3 separate regions of the Homo sapiens genome follow, and all the other regions are linked to region 2. Evidence: promoter capture Hi-C in 16 types of primary human blood cells and fetal thymus (Javierre and others, 2016). All regions are on one chromosome and are shown on one strand. Each heading gives the region's core, a stretch centred on a gene start or on the middle of the fragment in contact. The rest is flanking DNA. Distances are from core to core; before and after follow the strand shown.

The links. The method cuts DNA at HindIII sites, captures the fragments that hold promoters and counts their contacts. A CHiCAGO score of 5 or more calls a contact.
Region 1: a contact is called between a fragment that was not itself captured here and the fragment with the promoter of CD5 in region 2, in 7 of 17 cell types (non-activated CD4 T cells, naive CD4 T cells, activated CD4 T cells and 4 more). The highest score is 31.5, in non-activated CD4 T cells.
Region 3: a contact is called between a fragment that was not itself captured here and the fragment with the promoter of CD5 in region 2, in 4 of 17 cell types (non-activated CD4 T cells, activated CD4 T cells, naive CD4 T cells and 1 more). The highest score is 6.3, in non-activated CD4 T cells.

Annotation. Positions count from the first base shown.
Region 1 is chr11:60,977,922-60,981,862 of GRCh38, reverse strand. All of the region lies in intron 1 of CD6 (CD6 molecule), which reads right to left. Among named protein-coding and RNA genes, the nearest start is that of CD6, 8.2 kb to the right of the region's middle. The HindIII fragment of the contact is 9,705 bases long and covers 1-3,941 here.
Region 2 is chr11:61,101,193-61,105,644 of GRCh38, reverse strand. It overlaps CD5 (CD5 molecule), which reads right to left and starts at 3,156. Exons shown (of 11, transcript NM_014207.4): 1 at 3,030-3,156. The coding sequence starts at 3,084. The HindIII fragment of the contact is 6,487 bases long and covers 912-4,452 here.
Region 3 is chr11:61,172,789-61,177,075 of GRCh38, reverse strand. It overlaps LOC124902678 (a long non-coding RNA gene), which reads right to left and starts at 2,237. Exons shown (of 4, transcript XR_007062691.1): 1 at 909-2,237. The HindIII fragment of the contact is 5,976 bases long and covers 1-4,287 here.

The DNA.
Region 1 (3,941 bases), core at 877-3,376, 120 kb after region 2:
AGCATCTCCCAGGGACCAGAGACCCAGCCCCGGAGCTTCCTCCTCAGCCCTGCATCCTGCCTCCTGGCCTCTCTCAGCCGCCATTTTCAGGCAGAAGGCGTTCGGGCTGCAGGAGCCTACAAAATGGAGGGTGGGAACCTGGGCTTCCCTCTGCCTCCGTCTGTTGTCCCTGGGAGCGCCTGCCCGGTCCCAGTCGGAGCAGCAGCTGTGGCCACAGGTCTCTCCTAACACCCTAAGGAGCCTGGCATTTCTCCAAGCATGTCACCGCCAACATCTGGGGAGCCCCACACAGCTCTGAGCTCCCGTTGGCCCTGCTTTACAGCCGGGGAAACGAAGGCTGGGCATGGCCACTCAGCCTGAAGGAGGAGAGCTCAGGCTCCATAAAGTTCCATGACGGCCCAGCTGATGGTGGGTGAGGTGAAAAGTCCCTGGGGGAAGGGCGGACCTTTCCTGCAGGAGTCTTGAGTGGGGAGGGGTCCCCGGCCCAAACCCTACCCAATTCCAGGGCTGGGAAAAAGCAACGGATTTGGAGTCATGAGGTAAAACCAAGTATCTGTCATCTATTAGTGGTGCGATCTAGGAAAAGTCACTTTATCTCTCTGAGCCTGTCACTTACTCAGTAAAATGGAAGTATTAAATAGTAGCGCATACCTCCTTAGGGCTGTGACGAGGAGAAGGCAGGTTTACGTATTTGCAGAGTGCTGCACTGGAGGACGTGATCCTTGTACTGCCTGCCTAACACTTGTAAATGTACATTTTGTGGCGCACCTTCCGTGGGCCAGTCCCTGTGCTTGGCGCTCATTGAATCCTCATGGCACACCAGTCTGGGTCAGGAGGCAGAAAAGAGCCTGGACCTCAGCTCCTTTGGGAATTTCAGTCCTGCCTACCCAACATGACCCAACAGGACCAGCCGGACTGGCTGGTCAGCACCTCCCCTCAGCCGGGCCCTCGTAGGCTGTCCCACCTCCAGGTTTCTGCTCAAATGGGTCTTTCTTTCAATTTAATTAATTAATTAATTATTTTGAAACAGAGTCTCACTCTGTTGCATAGGCTGAAGTGCAGTGGTGCGATCTTGGGTCACTGTAACTTCCGCCTCCCGGTTTCAAGCGATTCTCTTCCCTCAGCCTTGCGGGTAGCTGGGATTACAGGTGCCCCCCATCCCCCGAACCACACCCGGCTAATTTTTGTATTTCTTTACTAGGGACGGGGTTTCGCCATATTGGCCAGGCTGGTCTCGGACTCCTGACCTCAAGTGATCCGCCCTACTTGACCTCCCAAAGTGTTGGGATTACAGGCGTGAGCCACTGCACCCGGCCTTCAAATGGGTCCTTCTTTCTGAAATACTTTTTTTTTTCTTTTTTGAGACAAGGTCTTGCTCCGTTGTCCAGGCTGGAGTGCAGTGGTGAGATCATGGCTCACTGCAGCCTCAACCTCCTGGGCTCAAGTCATTCTCTGCCTCAGCCTCCCGAGTAGCTGGGACTACAGGCATGAATCTCACATCCGGCTAACTTTTTAATTTTTTGTAAACGTGGGGGTCACACTATGTTGCCTATGCTGCTCTGGAACTCTTGGACTTCGGCCTCCCAACGTGCTGAATTACAGGTGTGAGTCACCAGAAAGGGCTGAAATCCTTTTTTCCCCCTTAACTTCTTATTTTCAAACTATGGACTCATAAGAAGTTGCCAAAATAGTGAAGAGAAATCCTGTGTACCCATCAGTCAGCTTCCCCCAGTGGTGACATATCATGACATGGATTTAAATTCAGCATTAGCCACCAACCTGGGACAAAATACATAACTTTCTGAGCCTCAGTTTCTCCACCCATAAAAAAGGGGTGATTGTCCTGGTGTTGTCAGGGTGGAACAGCATATGCATAGCTGGTGCTTGGAGAATATTAAGTCCCTGGTAATGGGTGGTGGTTGCAGCTGTCACTGGATTGTGCCTGTTGCCACACCTATCCCGGGGTGGTGCTGGTGTGTCTTACCACAACACTATAAACTGTTCAAGGGCAAACCTTCATGTCCTATGGCAGTGCCAGCACAGGGCCTGGTACTCAGCAGGTACTGAATGAATATGAAAATATGGAGCCTAGGCCAGGCACAGTGGCTCACACCTGTAATCCCAGCACTTTGGGAGGCTGAGGCGGGCGGGTGGATCACCTGAGGTCAGGAATTCAAGACCAGCCTTGCCAAAATGGTGAAACCCCGTCTCTACTAAAAATACAAAAAAATTAGCTGGGCATGGTGGTGGGTGCCTATGGTCCCCTTACTCGGGAGGCTGAGGCAGGAGAATTGCTTGAACCTGGGAGGCGGAGGTTGCAGTGAGCTGAGATCGCAGCATTGCACTCCAGCTTGGGTAACAGACTGAGACTCCGTCTCAAAAAGAAAAAAAAAAAAAAGAAAACAAAACAAAATATGGAGCCTGCTGCCCAGCAAGCTCTCCCCTGGCTCATGGTGCCTCTTTAATTTTGCCTTCCTGCTGGCCCCAAGGTGCAGGGCAACCCCCAGGCAAACCCCATGAGGGCGTGCCATGATGAGGGAGGCAGCCACACTTGACCCCATCTGTTGCTAAGAAGACTTCCAGGGTCCCTAGGACCTCAGAGGTCCCTCAGGGCTGTTCCTAGATTCAGTGGTGAGGCTGCAAGGCTAGGAGTTTGCATTTAGGGGAGAAACCCTATGCTAGAATAGAGCCCACAGGACAGCTGGCTGGAAACAAGCCAGGCAACTCCCACACAATGGAAAAAGCACCAGCCTGCTGGCTGGGAGACCCAAGCTCAGGTCCTGACAAGTCTCTTAGCCTCGCTAAACCTCAGTTTCCTCATCTATAAAATGAGGTCACCATGTGGGTGATGGAGCTCATTGTGCAAACAGCACTATGTTAACCACCGAGTCCTGTATTCACATAGGCAAGGGATTATCTTTGGTCTTGCTGTAGAGCATTTATAAGCTAACATTTCTGAGCACTGCATTTTGTTCGGCTATTTTCAGATGCATCATCTACATTAACTTGTACACTTTGGTGAGTTGGGGATTTTTATCTCTAGCATGCAGGCAAAGAAACCACCCTGGGGCCATGCAGAGATGCAATTCAGAACCCGCGTCTGCCTGACTCCGGGGTCCATGATTCTATACGACAGGATGCCGGCTGGGGTTGATACAGTGCCCTTCCTAGGGCTAAGTGTCTAGTGGCTGGGTCTCTGCTGCGTACAGCCAGATGCCCTGCTCCATAACCTGTAAAGCCTCAAGGAACATACATAAAGTACAAGCATGTTTAGGCTGGGTCCTTAGTGTTCAATTTACCCAGTTTTCCAGAAAGGAAACTAGGGCCAGAGAAAGGAAGGAACTTGACCAAGATTCCCCAGCAAGTTAGGACCAGAGCTAGTTCTCAAAGTCCACACCCACCTCACCCCTCCTCAAGGTTCCTTCTCCTCCCCAGGCTGCAGGGGCCTAGATTCCCAGAGCGGAATCAAGGGAGGTGAACTCGGGTGCCCCCCAACCTCAGGGCTCACTGGGAAAATCCAGGGACTTCTCAGGGTACTGGGGAGCCCCTGAAATGGGGGTCTCATGTGTAGGACGTAACCCCAGGCTGCAGAGCAGTCAGCGTCCCCAGGCTCAGTCTTGTCAGGGGACACCATGCCCACCCCCTTTGTCCTTTCTCTGGATCAGTGTTTTCAAAGTCTAGGGCACATACACAAAACTATGCAAAATTGATTTAGGTGGTCATTGACTTGGCATTATATACCACTATATTACATGATGAGGAAGTTATGCATACTCTTTATTTCCCTTTCAGCCTTTCTAATTACAGACTTGGAGGAGGAAATCTCCCATGGGGTTAGTCTTTAAAGTCTCTCTGACATCTACAGCCCTCCCTTTTGAGGAAAGGGAAAGCAGCAAATGCATCTGGCTAGAATTTAGTAACATTGTTTTATTTCCATTATG
Region 2 (4,452 bases), core at 1,907-4,406:
TAGAGAGATTGACGGCTGTGCAGGCCTCTGGCAAGACCCTCCTCCCCATTGGCTCCTACCTCGCATTGTTTCTTGCTGACCCTGGTAATAATAATAATCATAGTTGTTGCTGTTATTATTGTTTATTGAGTACTTACTATACTATATGCCAGGATTGTACTTAAGCTCTGTGTGCATTGATTCATTGAATCCTTATAAGCCTCTATGAGGTACTGTTGCACCCAGTTTACGGATGAGAAAACTGAGGCTTACAGAACTAGTCCAAGGTCGCCCAGTTGGTAAGTGGCAGACTGGAATTCAAACTGCAGAGTCCATGACTTTCCCACGTCCCAGTGCTGGCTTTCAGAGTCGCATCGGCTAGGCCAGTCAGGGACGTGCAGTTTGTGTTAGAGCCGCTTCCCCGCCTCACTGCCAGCAGCTGTCCAGGCAGGCTGGGGCTGAGAGGGGAGCAACTGTGGGAAGCCCTGGCCTGTCACTAGCACCCAGGCCTGCTGGGGGCATCTTCATGCCTCAGGATCCAAAGGTCCCCAAGCCCCGATGCCAGCCAGGAGGCTGTGGTGTCCCCAGGGCTCTGGCATTGCTGCCTCTCTCCTTGGAATGGCTCAAAGGGTGCCTGCACTGTTTGACTCCAGCAACCCTGGCCCTTGGTGTCCCCAGCTCTGGTGGCTGTATCTCTGCTGGTGGAGGTTGTGTCCCAGGGCCATTTTCCTGCACACGGAAGTGCCTTTGGTGGCCTTCCCTTTTAGCTAAGGGAGGGGCCTCTGTGAAGGCAGGAATGCTGGGCTGGGGTCAGCTCGGCTGTGCACCAGCTGCTGCACCCTGGGTTTGCACTCGGCCTTCCTGGGCCTCGCTTTTCCCCACTGTAAAATGGGGCCAATGGGCCCACCTACTTCATTGGCTGTTGTGAAGCTTGCAGCAGAAAATGGCTTTAAAAGTGCTTTGTAAACCGTTACCCACTGAACAAAGGGAATGCTTGGTACCCACCGGCTCACTCAGACACTGGGAACTGAGTATTCCTGGGGTTCAAGGAGGTCCCCATACTGGGGTGAAGGGGCTACCTCCAAGTCTTCCTGACTGTGGCCTGTGTTGGGCCAGGGGACTTGCCTGGTGCCATCAGGAGCCTCACCCATGATGGGATTCAGTTGGGAGGGCCCTAGAGCAGGACACGGGTTCCCATACTCAGCTGGGAGCCGCCCTATCTCAATGAAGTCTGAGGCCAGAGGTGAGGAGCAGGTGGGGGGTTTAAGGGCCTGGTCCCTCCTTAGCAGGGTCCCTGAAGCCAGCCAGAGGTCTGTCTCAGGCCTCTTACTTTGGGACAGAAGGCATTTTGTACCTGTTGTTGTTACATGTGAGAAGAACCATGTGAACATGTGTGCACAGGTGCCATTGTCACATGTGTTGGGGAGATAATCCTGCCTTTGGAGGCCGCATTGTGCTCATGAAAGCACACACACACAGTTCTCACACACATGCGCACAGACTCCCACACACAGACTCACACACAGACTCACACACAGACTCACACATTCCCCCCACACAGTACTCACACACATGCCCAGAGACTCACACACAGACTCACACACAGACTCACACATTCCCCCATACACAGTTCTCACACACATGAACACAGACTCACACACAGACTCACACGCACAGACTCACACTTTCCCCCCCACAAAATACTCACACACATGCCCAGAGACTCACACACAGAGTCACACATTCCCCCCCCACACACAGTACTCACACACATGCCCAGAGACTCACACACAGACTCACACACAGACTCACACATTCCCCCCCACACAGTACTCACACACATGCCCAGAGACTCACACACAGACTCACACATTCCCCCCCAGACAGTACTCACACACATGCCCAGAGACTCACACACAGACTCACACACAGACTCACACATTCCCCTACACACAGTACTCACACACATGCCCAGAGACTCACACACAGACTCACACACAGAGTCACACATTACCCCCCAACACAGTTCTCACACACGTACACACAGACTCACACAGACACACATAGACTCACACATTCCCCCACACACAGTTCTCACACACATGCACACAGACACACACACATGCATTCCCCCACACTCACACCTGCACACCCGGTTTCCCTAGAAGGCTGCTGAGGCTCCCTGCTCAGGCAGGCAAGGCCTCCGGACCCTCTCCCTGCCAGCCTGGAAGCTGCTCGCATCCTCCTGTTTCCAGCCCAGAGTCACGCACCTCTGTCACCCTGCCAGACCTTCTAAATCCTCAGGAAGTGGGTCAGGCCTCATCCAGTTCACACCCCCAACCCCCACATTTCATAAATGGGGAGATCAAGGCCTGGAGAGGCTTGGGGACCTATCCGAGGTCACACAGGGTTGGGCTTACAACCCAGGGCTGGAGTGAGAGCAGGCCCAGCGTGTACTCATCCCAGCCGGCCTGGCTGGGCCCCTCTGGGACTGACCCAGGACTGGGCATGAGAGGGCCTAGGACTTCCGCTATGAGTCCTTGACATTTGCTCAGACATCGTCCTCAGAGGCGGCTCCACCCTGCCTCGGCCCACTGTCTGTCCAGAGCATCATCAGAGCTGCCTCGGAGACGGCGAGTTTCCATGTCTCTGGAGGCGACCAAGTAAAGGCTGGGCTGTCAGTGGGGGACCTCGCAGAGGGAGGCCTGAATGCTCTGCTAAAATCCAACTCAGCCTAGGAATCAAGTTGTCTGGGCCCCATCAAATGCGGGTCCCCCCTGCAGTCTCTCTTGCACTGGAAGGGTAAAGCAGGGTTCTCAACAGCGCATGAGAGAGGCAAGGTTGTGCTCCTGGCGGGTGGGACATGCAGGACAGAGGGCCAAGCTGCGGCTTAGTGGGGGCAGGCAGGGATCCCAGTGGCCCCAAATCTCCACAACGCTCCAGAGGGCTGACATGTGGATCCCAGAGTCAGCCTTGGGTAAAACTGGGAACTCCTTCCTTGCACTGGAGCGAGCCCGGGTGTTCGCAGGACACCTGGGAGGGGTACTCACCCAGCATCCCCAGCAGGTACAAGGTGGCCAGCGGTTGCAGAGACCCCATGGGCATGGTTTCTGGCCTTCTCTTGCCTCAGCCTGGGCAGCTGGGCACCGCAGGTGAGGGTGTCTGGCCGGGTATCTCGCTCTCAGAGAGGGAGAGGGCGGGGTGGCGTGCTCAGGGAGGGGTGGGACGGGGAGCAGGCAGTGTGGGGCCTGCGTCACCCATGTTTGAAGTTGAACTGTCAACTTCCTCCTGGCAAAACCACCTGCCCCTGTTTGAATGGCAGCCCTGGCCTCTGCCAGCTTCCTGCCCAAGGTACCCAGGGCTGGGGCAGTGCTCTCGGCCACCCCCACACAGGACAAGGCCATGCATCCTGGAGGGACAGGGCTGCAGGGGGTGGGGACCCTGAGCGGGGGTTACGGAGGCTGAAGGCCTGGCTGCAGCTGAGGGCTGGGCTGAGGACAGGCGTCCCTGAGGCAGGGGTCTGGGTGGGGAGAGGCGGGAAATGGGCAGCATGATGCCAGTTCTTGTTGCAGACTCCAGTGAAAGCCAAAACCAAACCCTCCATTCCCCCTTTGTGAGGGATGAGGTTGGAAGTTTGAGCTGACTTTCCACAGGTGGTGTTTTGCTAGCAAGTACAAGAGATGGCTGCGCCATGAATGCTGGGCTTGTGCCAGTGTGTGTGTGTGTGTGTGTGTGTGTGTGTGTGTGTGTGTGTAGAGAGAGAGAGATCTCCATGTTGACTTGTGTGATCTCTGTGTTGTGTGTGTCATCTCTGTGTTGTGTGATCTCCATGTTGAGGTGTATGTGTGAGCTCCATGTTGAGTGTGTGTGATCTCCATGTTGATGTGTGTGTGAACTCCATGTTGATGTGTGTGTAATCTCCATGTTGACGTGTGTGATTTCTGTGTTGTGTGTGATCTCCATGTTGATGTGTGTGATTGTGATCGCCATGTTGATGTGTGTGTGATCTCCATGTTGATGTGTGTGTGTGATCTCCATGTTGATATGTGTGTGTGATTTCCATGTTGTGTGTTTGTGATTTCCATGTTGATGTGTGTGTATGATCTCCATGTTGACTTGTGTGATCTCTGTGTTGTGTGTGTGATCTCCATGTTGGGGTTGATGTGTGTGTAATCCCCATTTGATATATGTGTGTGTGATCTCCATGTTTGTGTGTGTGAATGTGATCTCCATGTTGATGTGTGTGAATGTGATCTCCATGTTGACGTGTGTGTGTGATCTCCATGTTGATGTGTGTGTGTGATCTCCATGTTGATGTGTGTGAATGTGATCTCCATGTTGATGTGTGTGTAATCTCCATGTTGATGTGTGTGTGTGATCTCCATGTTGATGTGTGTTTGTGATCTCCATGTTGATGTGTGTGAATGTGATCTCCATGTTGATGTGTGTGTGATCTCCATGTTGATGTGTGTG
Region 3 (4,287 bases), core at 624-3,123, 73 kb before region 2:
AACATGGTGAAACTCTGTCTCTACGAAAAATACAAAAATTATCTGGGTGTGTTGATGCATGCCTGTAATCCCAGCTACTCAGGAGGCTGAGGCATGAGAATCGCTTGAACCTGGGAGGCGGAGGCTGCAGTGAGCCGGGATCACGCCAGTCCACTCCAGCCTGGGCAACAAAGTGAGACAAAGAAAAAAAAAAGGGGGGAGTGTGTATATAAAACAAGGATTTGCAGAAACAGTGTAATTCTTGATGCTGAGTGATGGAATATGAGGTCCATGACACTATTCATTTTTACTTTTATGTTTGAACCTTTTTTGTAATAAGTTGAAAACATTTCCATTTTGAAGTTTCTGTCTTTAGTGGTATCCCAAGGGTCCCAAGCAAGGCCGACCTGGGTGGGCCCCACACTGGCTGAGTTGCTCCTGAGCCTCCCCTGCCCACGGCTCCGGCCCTCGTCCTGCTGTCTCCCACCACTACCCCTCGAGGTTGTCTGATCATCAGCTTGAGACTTTGAGGAGCCGTATCAGGGCCTGGAAGTGGAAAGGATGAGAACATTTTTAGAAACAACAAAATGGGGGTCTCCCTCCCTGGCTTTGTCTGCTTTAGTATCATCTGTAGGGAAGGGGCAGGGGCCCGGATAGGGAGGGAGCCAAAGACTGAAGCAGTGGAGGTGTTTTGAAGGGAAGGGAGGAGGGATTCATAACTAAATAACAGAGAGGAGGGCAGCTTGCACAGGATGCAAGACAGACTGGGATGGGAGAGAAGCCCAGGGGCGTGAACAGAGGGTCTGCAGAGCGGAACAAGATATTGGAAAAGGGCCTCCTGTGGCAGCGGGACATATGCAGTGAGTCAAGTTTAAACAGAGAACAGCCAGCTGTGGGGAGGAGAGAGCTAGGATTTCTGTGGTACCTACCAGCAGTCCAGTCGCACTTGGATCTTCTGGTCAAATGGTTCTGGAGGCTGCGTCCTTCCTGCTGGAATTCCTGCTCCAGACATGGAGGTGGTAGAGATGCTTACTGCTGGTGAGCCATGGGAACGAGGCCATATTCAGTGGCCCTTTTATTACTCTGTGGCCATTGGCATCATCTCAAGCTGGACAGCAAAATAGCAGGTCACCCAAAACATCTCTCCTTTTAAAATATTGTCCAATATATCTAACCTTTCTTGGCACGTCTTGGACCTAGAATTTTTTTTATTGTTATTCATTCCTTTAGTAAAGGTAATTCATCAGCCTGACTCGAGTTTCTGTTGAAGAATCCATGAGCTTCCCAGTTGGTAACTTCTGCCTTATGGCTGTCAGATCTCATCCCACAGAATCCAAGTGCTGGAATGTTCCATTGGGCAGGAGTGCAAAGGTCCTTTAGCTCCTGCATGTCAGTGACGTGGCACCTGGTCTACCATGCTCCATTCTGAGTCCAAGGCAGATATTGCCAGCGAACCACAGCACCCCCTACCACTGGATGTGGCCCCAGAATCCCGAGCAACATACAATCCCTTCAGCCACGTGTTCTAGCAACCAGCGTCGGCACTGGATTGGGAATGATTGCTATTCTTGGACAAGTCCAGTCTGTTATCCCGGAGATGGGGAAACTGAGAGCTGGGGTGTATAATTTACAGAAGGGATGCAAGGTAGGTTAGTGAAGTGCTGGGACCCGGGGCTTCTGGCTCTCAGGTAATCCTCTTCCCACCTGGGCATAGGCTTGGGGAGCTCTGAGAAGGGAAAGGTGAGAGAATGCTCAATTGCAGTCCCTGCTGCCAGCTTCCGTAGGTCACTTTCGGGGGTCTGCAGGTGCCAGAGCTGAAGTTCCTTCCTCTTTCTCCTTAAGTCCGGCTCCAGTTCTGTTGCCAGACCTGCCATCTTATGGCAGCAGGAAAGCAATATTGGAAGCTGCCAGACACAGTGGGGGCAGCCCCGGCTGGAGTGGCACCAGGAAGCAGGAGGCAGTGGTGCCGGTTAGTGCTTGACTTGTGCCCAGCTTGGCAGCCCCACAGCTTCCCCTCCTTGTTCATAACACACTGACCCTTGTAAGTTGGTGTGACACTGGCCTGTATTTAGAGTAAGGAACATCTTCTGGTCAGACTTCGACAATTGAAACCCAATGTTCTATTTCATCTTTAGGGGATTCTTGGCTGAGTTGGGAGGGTCAGACAAGGGTGCATTCAAGGACTTGTTGCCTCTCTGAGGCTCAAGAAAGACCTTGGAACTTTGAAGGCCCTGATGAGGGATGAACAACTGATGCTTTCTGGGGGCTTCACTGTATGGAGACAAAGAATGGAGCAAGGAAAACCCACCGGGAAAGCCTGGGCATTACTTGGGTCTCAACTGATTTCAAGTTGAATTCTAGCCACCAGACATCATGGTCAGGTGCTGATGCCCCATGGCCATCTTCCAAGAAGGAATGGAAGAACCAGACTCTGCCAAAGGAGCAGCCACCTTCGGGGGGCCCCTGTGATAGCACTGGGGGAGATTAGTCAAGAGCGTTTACTTTCCTCTTGGCCCTGTGGGTGTGCTGGGCGTTCCAGCAGGAGGACAAGCAAACCCCAGGGTTCCTGGTGGTGGCAGTGGCACCCACTGTGCCTCTTGGAGCTGGAGCTGGTGATGATAACCAGCTTATCTACATGGCCCTGGGCCCAGAGCAAACTCAGCTCTATTGACACCTCTTATTTTCCCGCCTCAGTTTGCACATAGCCCCAGGGCTTGCCATTCTGGGAAAGGGGTTGATAATTCATTGCTGGTAACTTGCTCCGAGTCAACAAATCAAGTGTGTGATGAGGTCATGGTGTGTAACTTGTGGCCTCGATGGCCTGGTTGACGATGGTGTGTTCAGGTGTGGACGGAAGACTGGAGATGGAAAAGTAGCCTTTTATTGAACTTGGTTACCTTGGGCCTTTGCAATTCCTGTTCTCCCTGTCCAGAAGGTTCTTCTCCCAGCTTTCTGCGTGGATGGCTATTCAGCCATCATCTCAATGTTCCCTCCTCAGTGATGCCTTCCATGGCCACTCTGGTCTCCCAGCTGTAGAGCCTGACTTGGAGGAGCCCTGGAGACACCTATTGAACGCCTTTTCCCATGTGCTCTTTGTGGGCGCCCTGTGAAGCTGATAATGTCTCCAATTTATAGATGAGGAAACTGAGGCTTAGAGGAGCTAAGTAACTTCCTCAAGGATTTATGGCAAGTAAGTGGTAGAGTCAAGATTTGAACTAGGTCTGTCTGACTACAAATTCTAGGCTCTTGGCCACTCTGCAGCTCATTAGTACTGGGCTTGGGAGGTCAGGAAATGAGGCAGAACAAAAGGAGGAGAGGACGGGTGGGAGGAGGAAGGGATAATTGAGGACAGGTCTCATCTATTAGGAAATATTCATTCTTTCAGTGAACACTTGAGGGTGCTCGAAGCCAAGTTCATAAATTGCTCGCTGTTTATGAATAGCCTTGCAGACAGGGCCATGGAGGACATTGTACAATTTGTGCCCAGAACACAGGTGTCAGGCCATGGGGGAAGAAGACCTGAAGTCAGGTCATGATTCACTGCTGAGCCATGCACCTGGGCAGCTGCAGCCACCTGGAGGAGGCCAGCTTTTTCTGAATCTAACGAAGGCTCCAAATGGGCTAGCAGTGGCCCTGAAGTCCAGGAAACAAAACATTTAGAAAGGTAATGTGGCAGCACTGCAATAGAGGCATGCCCTGGGCATCCTGCAAAGAGGATGCCCAATGCTGCCTTAGGTGGAAAGTTAGGAAGTCTCCCTAGTGGAGGTGGCAACTGAGCCGAGTCTCAGTGGATGAGAGAACTTTGCCAAATGGGCATGGGGAGGAGGGAACACCAAAGAGGGCAGCACTGGCATGATAATAGACCTAAAGGATTGTAAGTCACCTGGTAAGGTTAGATGGTAAGGGTCATGGGCCCAGTTGATGCATGATATTAGTCAGCATGGGCAGTATATGCTGCAGTAACAAGCAACACCCAATTTCACAATAAGAAGGTTTCTCTTTTGCTTTCCCTATATGTCCATTACAGGTCATCTAGGGCTCTGGTTTGAGACGTTTTCACTCAGAGATGCAGACCGATGGAGACTTCACCATCTATGGTGTCACTGGTGGCCACAGCAGGGGGAGAGGCACATGCCAACTCATGCACCGGCCACATCAGAAGTGTCTGCAGGAGTGAAATGGGTCACCACTATTTGCACTTCATTGGCCCAAGTGACGCCAAATTTCAAGGGATTATGGAAGTATAATTCAACATGGTTTTAGAATGAGGACTAGGAAACTCTGGAGAACACTGCTAATGATTTACGG